2 separate regions of the Homo sapiens genome follow, and region 2 is linked to region 1. The links are contacts of gene promoters, found by promoter capture Hi-C in human tissues and cell types (Jung and others, 2019). All regions are on one chromosome and are shown on one strand. The core of a region is centred on a gene start or on the middle of the fragment in contact, and the rest is flanking DNA. Distances in the headings are between cores, read along the strand shown. Region 1 holds the start of ZNF596 (zinc finger protein 596). Region 2 has its middle 76 kb from the start of TDRP.

The links. Contacts are between HindIII fragments. The study calls those that stand out against the background at their distance.
Region 2: a fragment that was not itself captured here is called in contact with the fragment with the promoter of ZNF596 in region 1 in 1 of the 25 tissues and cell types used here (dorsolateral prefrontal cortex).

The regions. Positions count from the first base shown.
Region 1 is chr8:230,393-234,740 of GRCh38, forward strand. ZNF596 (zinc finger protein 596) reads left to right here and starts at 2,064. Exons shown (of 6, transcript NM_001042416.3): 1 at 2,064-2,302. It also overlaps the pseudogene RPL23AP53. RefSeq lists a silencer at 1,831-1,930 and an enhancer at 1,951-2,270. The HindIII fragment of the contact is 11,154 bases long and covers 1-4,170 here.
Region 2 is chr8:618,825-623,172 of GRCh38, forward strand. It overlaps a transcript of ERICH1 not described here. Among named protein-coding and RNA genes, the nearest start is that of TDRP, 76 kb to the left of the region's middle. The HindIII fragment of the contact is 4,674 bases long and covers 1-4,348 here.

The DNA of each region.
Region 1 (4,348 bases), core at 814-3,313:
TTTCGGGGGTTGAGCACTTTTCGTTATAAAATATTTATGATTGTGGGAACAAGTTAATAAAGACATGAAAGTTATTTAAATGTCCCAGAACTTTAAGAACAAAAAGCATTCTTAGTTTAAAAATAAGTTTTACTTTAAAGGTAACAGTACACACATAAATTGTTGTTAAAATCGACAGTAACAAAGAGAAGTAACAATACTAATAGCCTGTCACAAACTGATTCTTAATAACCTATATAAACAAACATTAAGCCCGGGCGCCGGGTGGCTCATGCCTGTTATCCCAGCACTTTGGGAAGCCGAGGCAGGCAGATCACTTGAGGCCAGGAGTTCCAGACCAGCCTGACCAACATGGTGAAGCCCAGTCTCTACCAAAAACACAAAAAATTAGCCGGGTATATTGGCACGCACCTGTAATCCCAGCTACTTGGGAGACTGAGGCAGGAGAATCCTTGAACCCAGGAAGCAGAGGTCGCAGTGAGGCGAGACCATGCCATTGTGACAGGAGAGAAACTCTGTCTCAAAAAAAAATTATATGTTTACAACAGGTGCATTTCTCCTCTTGCTTTCTGAGGACGCCCTGCTATGTAGCTGAGTAGTCACTAATAAACTATCTTAACTTCACTATACTCTGTGACTTGCCAAAAGGTCTTTCCCATGTGAAATCCAAAAACCTGTTCTTGGGGTCTAGGACAAGACCCATTTTATAATGACAAAACTATACAAATTCTAGAGGGAAACATAGAAAGAAAGCTATGTGACCTTGCGTTTGGCCATGAGTTTTAACACGACACTATCAGAGGCATTTGAACCCCTCCTCTATATGAACTCCAGGGTGGTTTATGTTCCATTGGCTAAGAGAAAGTTTTCTTCAAAAATGTGACATGATTTGAGGTCAAACATTAATATCAAGTAAACTCAAAAGATTGAGAAGCTAGCATTAGTTCTGGGAAAACCAGAAGTGTGCCTTTTTTGGAAATAATCATTGGTAGCACAAACTTAAGAATCTCCAAAGGAAATAAAAATGAGTTATTAACTTACAGTTTTCACCAATTAAGATATAAATGAAGCTAACGAAATCCGGAAATACAATTTCACTGTTTTTAATGTTCATTAAAAAAAAATCCTTATCAAATAGCCCCAGTAAGTCACCAATTAAGTCTTTACTACTTAAAAGCAAAATCCACCTATGTCCTGAACAGTATCCACTTTACGAGCCTCATTATATGTACGAGATAAAATTCAGAAATAAATAAATATACATGTATACGTATACAAATATATTTCAAATTAAAAAATACTTTTAGATAGTGGTATGTATTACATTTAGAAATTAATAACGAAGTAAATTATGGGATGTCATCCACGCCTGTCCCAAAGGTACCGAATTTATAAATCATCTCAGGTGCGGAGCAGGACAGGTTGAAAATAGGAATGACATGAACCCGCGCGGAACAGCTGCCGGCGCGGTGTCCAGGGCGGCACCCCGCCCGGTCCCGGCCCCTCCAGCCCTGGGCCCGACCCCTACTACGCCTCTGCCTCGACGCGAACGCGGAGCCCGAGCGCGCGTCACGCCGTGTGGGGCCGAAGAGGCTGCTACCCAGAGGCGGAGTGCGGGCTCGCGAGGGTCCCCACCCGACTCTCGCTCCCGCCAGCACCTACGGACTCGCGTCCCCGCCGCGCGCCGACTCGGGAGCAGCACCGCCCCCGGCACAGGAGCCTCACGCGCCTCTTACCTAACAGGAAGTTGGGTGGAAGCAGCGCGGACCCACGGCACACCGAACGCACTCCAACAGAACCCGACGCAGACACGCGCTTTCAACCGGCGGAGACACTGGCAGGGCCAGAAACGCGCGCAGCGGGGGCGGGAGGTCGGTAAGCTCCCCGCCCCTGCCCGAGACCCCGCCCCGGCCCGGCCCCGCCTTTTTCTCTGCCTCCCCTCCCTGCACGTACGGGCCCCGCCCCTCGCGCGACGTTTTTTGTTGACCCGGAAACGGATTCTCCGGAGCCGAGGTCCGCTCGGGTGAGTGCCCTCCGCTTTTTGTGGCCAAACCCAGCCACGCAGTTCCCTTCCTGCGGCGTCCTCCACACCCGGGGTCTGCTGGTCTCCGCGGATGTCACAGGCTCGGCAACCGCCCTCCTGTCGGCGGGGAGTCCCGCGACGCCCGGAAATGCTCCGAAGCCTGTCGCCCAGCTGCCAGATCTGCGTCTGTGTCCGGTTCCGTCACTGAGGTCGCCCCTGTCCGGCCCTTCCACCCTAGTTCTCTTCACCGTCCGCCCATCCTATCGCGCGCGGCCTCAGGTCCCGATTCGGCATGTGGCTTGTCTTCCATCGTCCCCACCCTCGCCCCTCTTGGCCCCTCAGGGCAGCCCTGGGATTCGGCAGACGCCAGTCCTCCCTGAGATGCTTCCCCATCCTTCCCTCCGCCAGGCCCTACGTCTCCGCAAACCCCACGCTTCGGGGTGGCCGCCTCAGACAGGACCCTGAGTCCGAGACTGGGGTAGGGGACCTGCCCGATCCTGTAACAACCCTCGTGCTTCTGCACAATCGCCTCCCACTAGCGGTGACTGTTGGGTGTTTACCTTCCCGGTGTCCCACTGAGAAGCGGGCTCTTCCTTGGCAGGGGCTTCTTCATTGCCTCGCTGTGGATGTCGAGGTGGGGCAGGAGAGTGAGGAGAAAACAGAGGAGGGAGGTAGAGCCAACGAGCGAGAAAAGGGGAGGGAAGTTTAGATGGGAAGTGGATGGGTCTGAGGAATTTGAACAAACACCGACAATGAAGGAGAGTGACCTGAGCAAGTAGTAGTGGGGTAAATGGAAATAGACAAAATGGGAATCAGCAGAGATATGGAGGACAGAATACAATGAGGAGGCCTTGACCGTCAGTAGCAGAGAGGGCAGCAGAAGCCTAATTCCCAAATTCTTTAGATGGTTTTCTGATTTCCAAATTAGTTTCCCTTTTAAATTTATTGTGTCAGGTTCAGCTTATGAGGCCTCAATACTTTTCAGTCTTAATTGTATATTGAAAATACTTTTTGTTTACTAAATGCTTTTTACATTAATTCAGTGTGCACTTCGTAAGGATAATGATGATTTGAGTTAGTTTAGTATTCAACAGCTTCCTCTATTCCTTTATATGATCTCTGTATTTAATGGCTGTGGCATAAAGTTTCCAACTAAGTTTAAGTATCAAGTTTTCTTTGTGCTGTTTTCTGCAAATATTGAAGGATGACCTGGATTGTCCTAGAACTTTGTTCCAACAGATTACATGTGTTCATAATGAATAGACTGCTCAAAGATATTTCCAAAGCTCACCTTTTATGTTTTTCAGTTCCAATAATTACATCTTTTTAAGGTTTATATTTTTTGATGACTTAATGTGATGTTCTGGAGAAGACAAATGCTTTTAATCAATATGATTAAAACCGTGAAAGACAAATCGCTGTTACTTAAGAGTGTGACATATGATCTGAAATCTTTAGGGGGCAGGGATGTTAAGGGAAAACTGCCACTATCGTATTAAGGTCATGCCATTCCTGTGAAGCTGGTGCTTGTTACTCTCTACTGGCTTCTGTTCACCTTTCCACCGGCCCCAAGACACACACATAGTGACACAAGGCAGTGGACAGGGAAAGAGCAAGACTTTATAAAGTAAGCACACAACAAAGGTATCTTTCTAATGAGGAGGAGGTGTTGGTTCTGGGAAGGAAGCTTGGGATTTGGGTATTCAGGATCCAGAAGTGAGAGAGCCTGGGAAGTTCAGGAACCAGAGAAAGAAAAAGCCTTGCCCATTCTCACCCATGACACTGTGCTCAGCAGGTACTAGCAGACTTCAGGCTCTGTGACTAAAAGGGGTCAGACCAGTTGATATACCCACAGCTGCCATGTAAGGATGTGTGTGGACTTCACTAGGGAAGAACGGTGTTATGAAAGAAGGGGCAGAAAAACTCACCTGTTGGTCTGCATGTAGAGGTTTATTGTCCTGAATTCCTGGAGGTTCAGTGAAAAGCAGAAGATTGTCTTTTACACATGTTGAGTTATGCCCCCATATATGTGGTTGTGGTAAAGAAAGAGGGTGTGTTGATGAGAGGTCCTGAAATGCATTTTCCTAATACTCAGCAGGGGCTTCTCAAGAAGGATCTTCCCTAAGAAAGAAGCTCAGAGAACAAAAATGGAAAAGGATTAGATATGGCACTTTCACTGGAAAAAGTCATGTTATTCATTGATTGTTTTGTCATCTCCCGCCTTAAGTGTTGTTTTTAGGATGTGGTAATCTCTGACCCTGCCTAACACATTTCCCAACTCACCCATAGCCTTCCCTTAACGTCCTCCCATCTTCACGCTATCAC
Region 2 (4,348 bases), core at 1,057-3,556, 390 kb after region 1:
AAACGCCTGACCGAGTTGGAGATCAGTGGTGGAAATTTCAAAGGTAGAGGACACAGCTGCCGTCTTGGGAGTGGTGGACTCCTCCCAGAAGACAATCATTTAACCGGAGAAAATGGTTTTAAACATCATTTAAAGTCTCTGAAATTATCCTAAGGGCATACGCAGAATGAAAAACTATTTATTCAGGAAAATCCAGTAAATCTTAGTAACAACAGTGAGAGTCTGTGGCATTTCAGCCTCAGCCCTCCCTCCAAGCCCATCGAGAAAATGGAAGCTCTGCTCTCTACAGATGTGGAAAAGAAAATGGGGGCCCTACTCCCCCAGTGCCCAGTCTGGGGCTCTGGCCACCTGTGTTGCCCACCTCCCAGCCCCGTGTTAAAATGTTGAAAGCCAAATAAAGAGAAAGCCTTGAGAACAGAAAGGGCACGTGACCCATCGCGCACAAGGAGGCCCCGGTGAGACCCACCGCGCACGAGGGGGGCCCGGTGAGACCTATCTCACACAAGGGGATTCTGTAGATAATTGTAAAAGACAGTATAACATATTTCTTCTTTCTTCTCAACTTATTTTTAAAATGCTTACATAAAAGAATATGTATATAATTACATTATTTGTATTATAACATATAGAAACGTAATACATTTGAAAATAGCAGCACAAAGAAGCCAGGTGGAACAAAGCTGTACTGGAGAGAAAGCAATGACATCAGATAGTAACCAGTATCCACCGGGGGAAGAAAAGAGAATCAGAAATGGTAAATAAGGAGATTAATATAACAAACTTTATAAACATATACTTGCTCTCCTTTCTTCTCTCAACTTCCTTAAAAGACTTAAGATTATATACAGTAGTAATTATAACAATATATTGTTGGGTTTGTAACATATACAGGGACAATATATTAAACAACAGCACAAAAAAGAAGTCTATGGAATGAAACTATGTTGTATGAAGTCTATGGAATTGAACTCATTCCACAGGAGTATGTTTCTGTATTTCACTGGTATTAGGCTAGTATAAATCTAAAATAAAATTTGATGTTAAGATGTACATTGTAAGCTCCAGAGCAACCACTAAGAAAATAAACAATACAGTAAAAATGTCATTTAAGGAATAAAAAATATTACATTATAAAATAGCCACTTAATATGAAAAAGCAATAAAAGAAAATGGAGGAATAATAAGGACATATACAAAACAAAAAGTGGGCCAGGCGTGGTGGCTCACACCTGTAATCCCAGCACTTTGGGAGGCCAAGGTGGGTGGATCACGAGGTCAGGAGTTCGAAACCAGCCTGATCAACATGGTGAAACCTCGTCTCTACTAAAAATACAAAAATTAGCCAGGCGTGGTGGCGCACACCTGTAATCCCAGCTACTCAGGAGGCTGAGGCAGGAGAATCACTTGAATCCAGGAGGCGGAGGTTGTAGTGAGCCGAGATTGTGCCACTGCACTCCAGCCTGGGCAACAGAGTGAGACTCTGTCTCAAAAAATAAATAAATCAATAAAAAAGAAAACAAAAAGCATAATGTTAGATATAAACCTAATAATCAATAAAAATAATATTTAAATGTGAATCAATTGAACAAGTCAATCAAAAGGCAGAGATCATCAGACTGAATAAAGGGAAACCAGAAACCTGCTTATCAAGTGTGTGTCTCTGTGTGTGTCTGTATAGTATCTGCAATGTACACTGACCTCCTATAGAAAAAGTATTCATATTCTGTAGAAAATCCAGTGCAGCTTTTAAAAATACAAATGAGTTGAAAGTTAAAGAACAGAAAAACATACGTCATGCAAACAGCAACCATGACAGAGCTGGATAGGCTATACTAACATCAGAAAAAACAGACTTTAAAACAGAAAATGTTACTAAAGACAAACACTTTGTAATGATAAATGTTAACATAACAATTATAAACCCATATGCACCTAACAGTGGCACCCCAAAATATATAAAGCAAACTGGTGAAATTGAAGGGAGAAGTAGACAATTTAACAATGGTTTTTACAGACTTCAATACCCCACTTTTAATTATTTATAGAATGAATAGGCAGAAGATCCACACAGAAATAAAAACTTAAATAAACTTAGATTTAACCAGCATCTACAGAACACTTCACCAAAAACAGCAGAATACATATTCTCAAGTACACATAAAACGTTCTCCACGACTGACAATATGGTGCATACACCATAAAATAAACTCGAATACCTTTAAATAGGATTGAAATCATAAAGTATATTGTCTGAGCACAATAGACTTAAATTAAAAATCAGTAATAGGAAGAAACTTGGGAAATTCACAAATATGTGAAAATTAAACAATACACTCCTAAATAACTAATGGATGAAAGAAGAAATTACAAGGGAAATTAGAAAAAAACTTGAGAAGGATGAAAATAAAAGCACATCATGCCAATATTTATAGACTGCAGCTAAAGCAGTGCCCAGAGGAAAAGTTATAGCTATACATGCTTATATTAAAAAAGACACTCTCAAATCAATAACCTTTCTACCTTAAGACACTAGAAAAATTTCTCACAACAAAAGATAAGTGTGTGATGTGATGGATATGTTAATTAGCTTGATATAACCATTTAACAAGGTATACATGTATCAAACATCACACAGTAAATATATGTAATTTTTGTCAACTATATGTTAATAAAAATTTTTTAAATAATTAAAATAATTAAATAATTAAAAAGAGAAAGGAGATAGAGAAGAGCAAACTAAAAACCAGCAGAAGAAAGGAAATAATCAAGATTAGAGCAGAAATAACTGACACAGAGAATAGAAAAACAATAGAGAAATCAACAAGACCAATGGTTAGTTCTTTGAAAAGACTGACAAAACGACAATCCTTTAGAAAGACTACGAAAGAAAGAGAGGGACTAAATTACCAAAGTTAGAAATGGAAGGGAGGACATCTTATAAAATAATGACCTTATAAAAGTAAAAAAGGATTATAAGTGAATAATATCAACAATTATGAGCCAACAAAGTTAAATACAATTCCTAGAAAAACATAAACTACCCAAACCAACTCAAAAGGAAATATATCTAAAACAATTAGAGATTAAATAATGTTAAAACTTCCTTGTGGCTGAGTGTGGTGGCTCATGCCTGTAATCCCAGCACGTTGGGAGGCCAAGGCATGACGATCCCTTGAGGCCAGTAGTTTGAGACCAGCCTGGACAACACAGTGACAACACCTCTACAGAAAATAAAAATGAAAAAAATTAACCAAGCGTGGTGGCATGTGCACCTGTAGTCTTAGCTACTTGGGAGACTGTGGCAGGAGGACTATTTGATCCCAGGAGTTTGAGATTACAGTGGCCTAAGATTGTGCCACTGTACTCCATCCTGGGTGACAGAGCAAGATTCTGTCTCAGAAAAATAAAAATAAATAAATAAATTCCTTGCTATGGTCTGAATGTTTGTATCCACCCCCCATTTATATGTTGAAACTCAATCAGCAAAAGGTGATGTTATTAGGAGGTGGGGCCTTTGGAGAGTGACTAGGTCATGAGGGCCCTGTGAAAATGAATAGGATTAATGCTTTTATAAAAGAGGCCCCCAAGAACTGCCTTCCCTTCTGCTACGTTGAGGATGCAGTGAGAAGACACCATATCTATGAAGCAGAGAACGAAGCTTTTCTAGATACTAAATCTGGTGGTGACGTGATCTTGGACTGTCCAGCCTCCAGAACTGTGACCAATAAATTCTGCTGTTTATAAAGCACCCAGTCTGAGGTATTTTGATATCACAGTCCAAACAGACTACCCTTGAAAACCCAAGCCAGACAGCTTCACTAGCAAATTCTATCAGACATTTAAAAAGGCAGGGCACAGTGGCTCACACCTGTAATCCCAGAACTTTGGGAGGCTGAGGTGGGAGGATCACTTGAGCCCAGGAGTTTCAGACCAGCCTTGGCAACATAGTGAGACCGTGTCTCTATAAAAAAATTTTTTTAAAAAATAGCCAGGTGTAGTGGTGCACACCTGTGGTCCCAGCAGCTCAGGATGCTGAGGTGGAAGGATTGCTTGAGCCCAGGAATTCAAGGCTGCAGTGAGCCATGATTGTACCACTGTACTCCAACCTGGGCAACAGAGGAGATCCGCTCTCAATAAATAAATAAATAAATAAATAAATAAAACATCAATACTAATCAATACCAATACTGTCAATACCAATCCTACCAAAAAAACAGAAGAGGGTTTAACACTTCCCAACTCATTTTATAGAACAGTATGACGAGAGATAAAACAGGCAAAGATATCAAAAGAAAACTACAGACTAATATTCCTTATGAATATAGACACAAACACTAGCAAACAACTT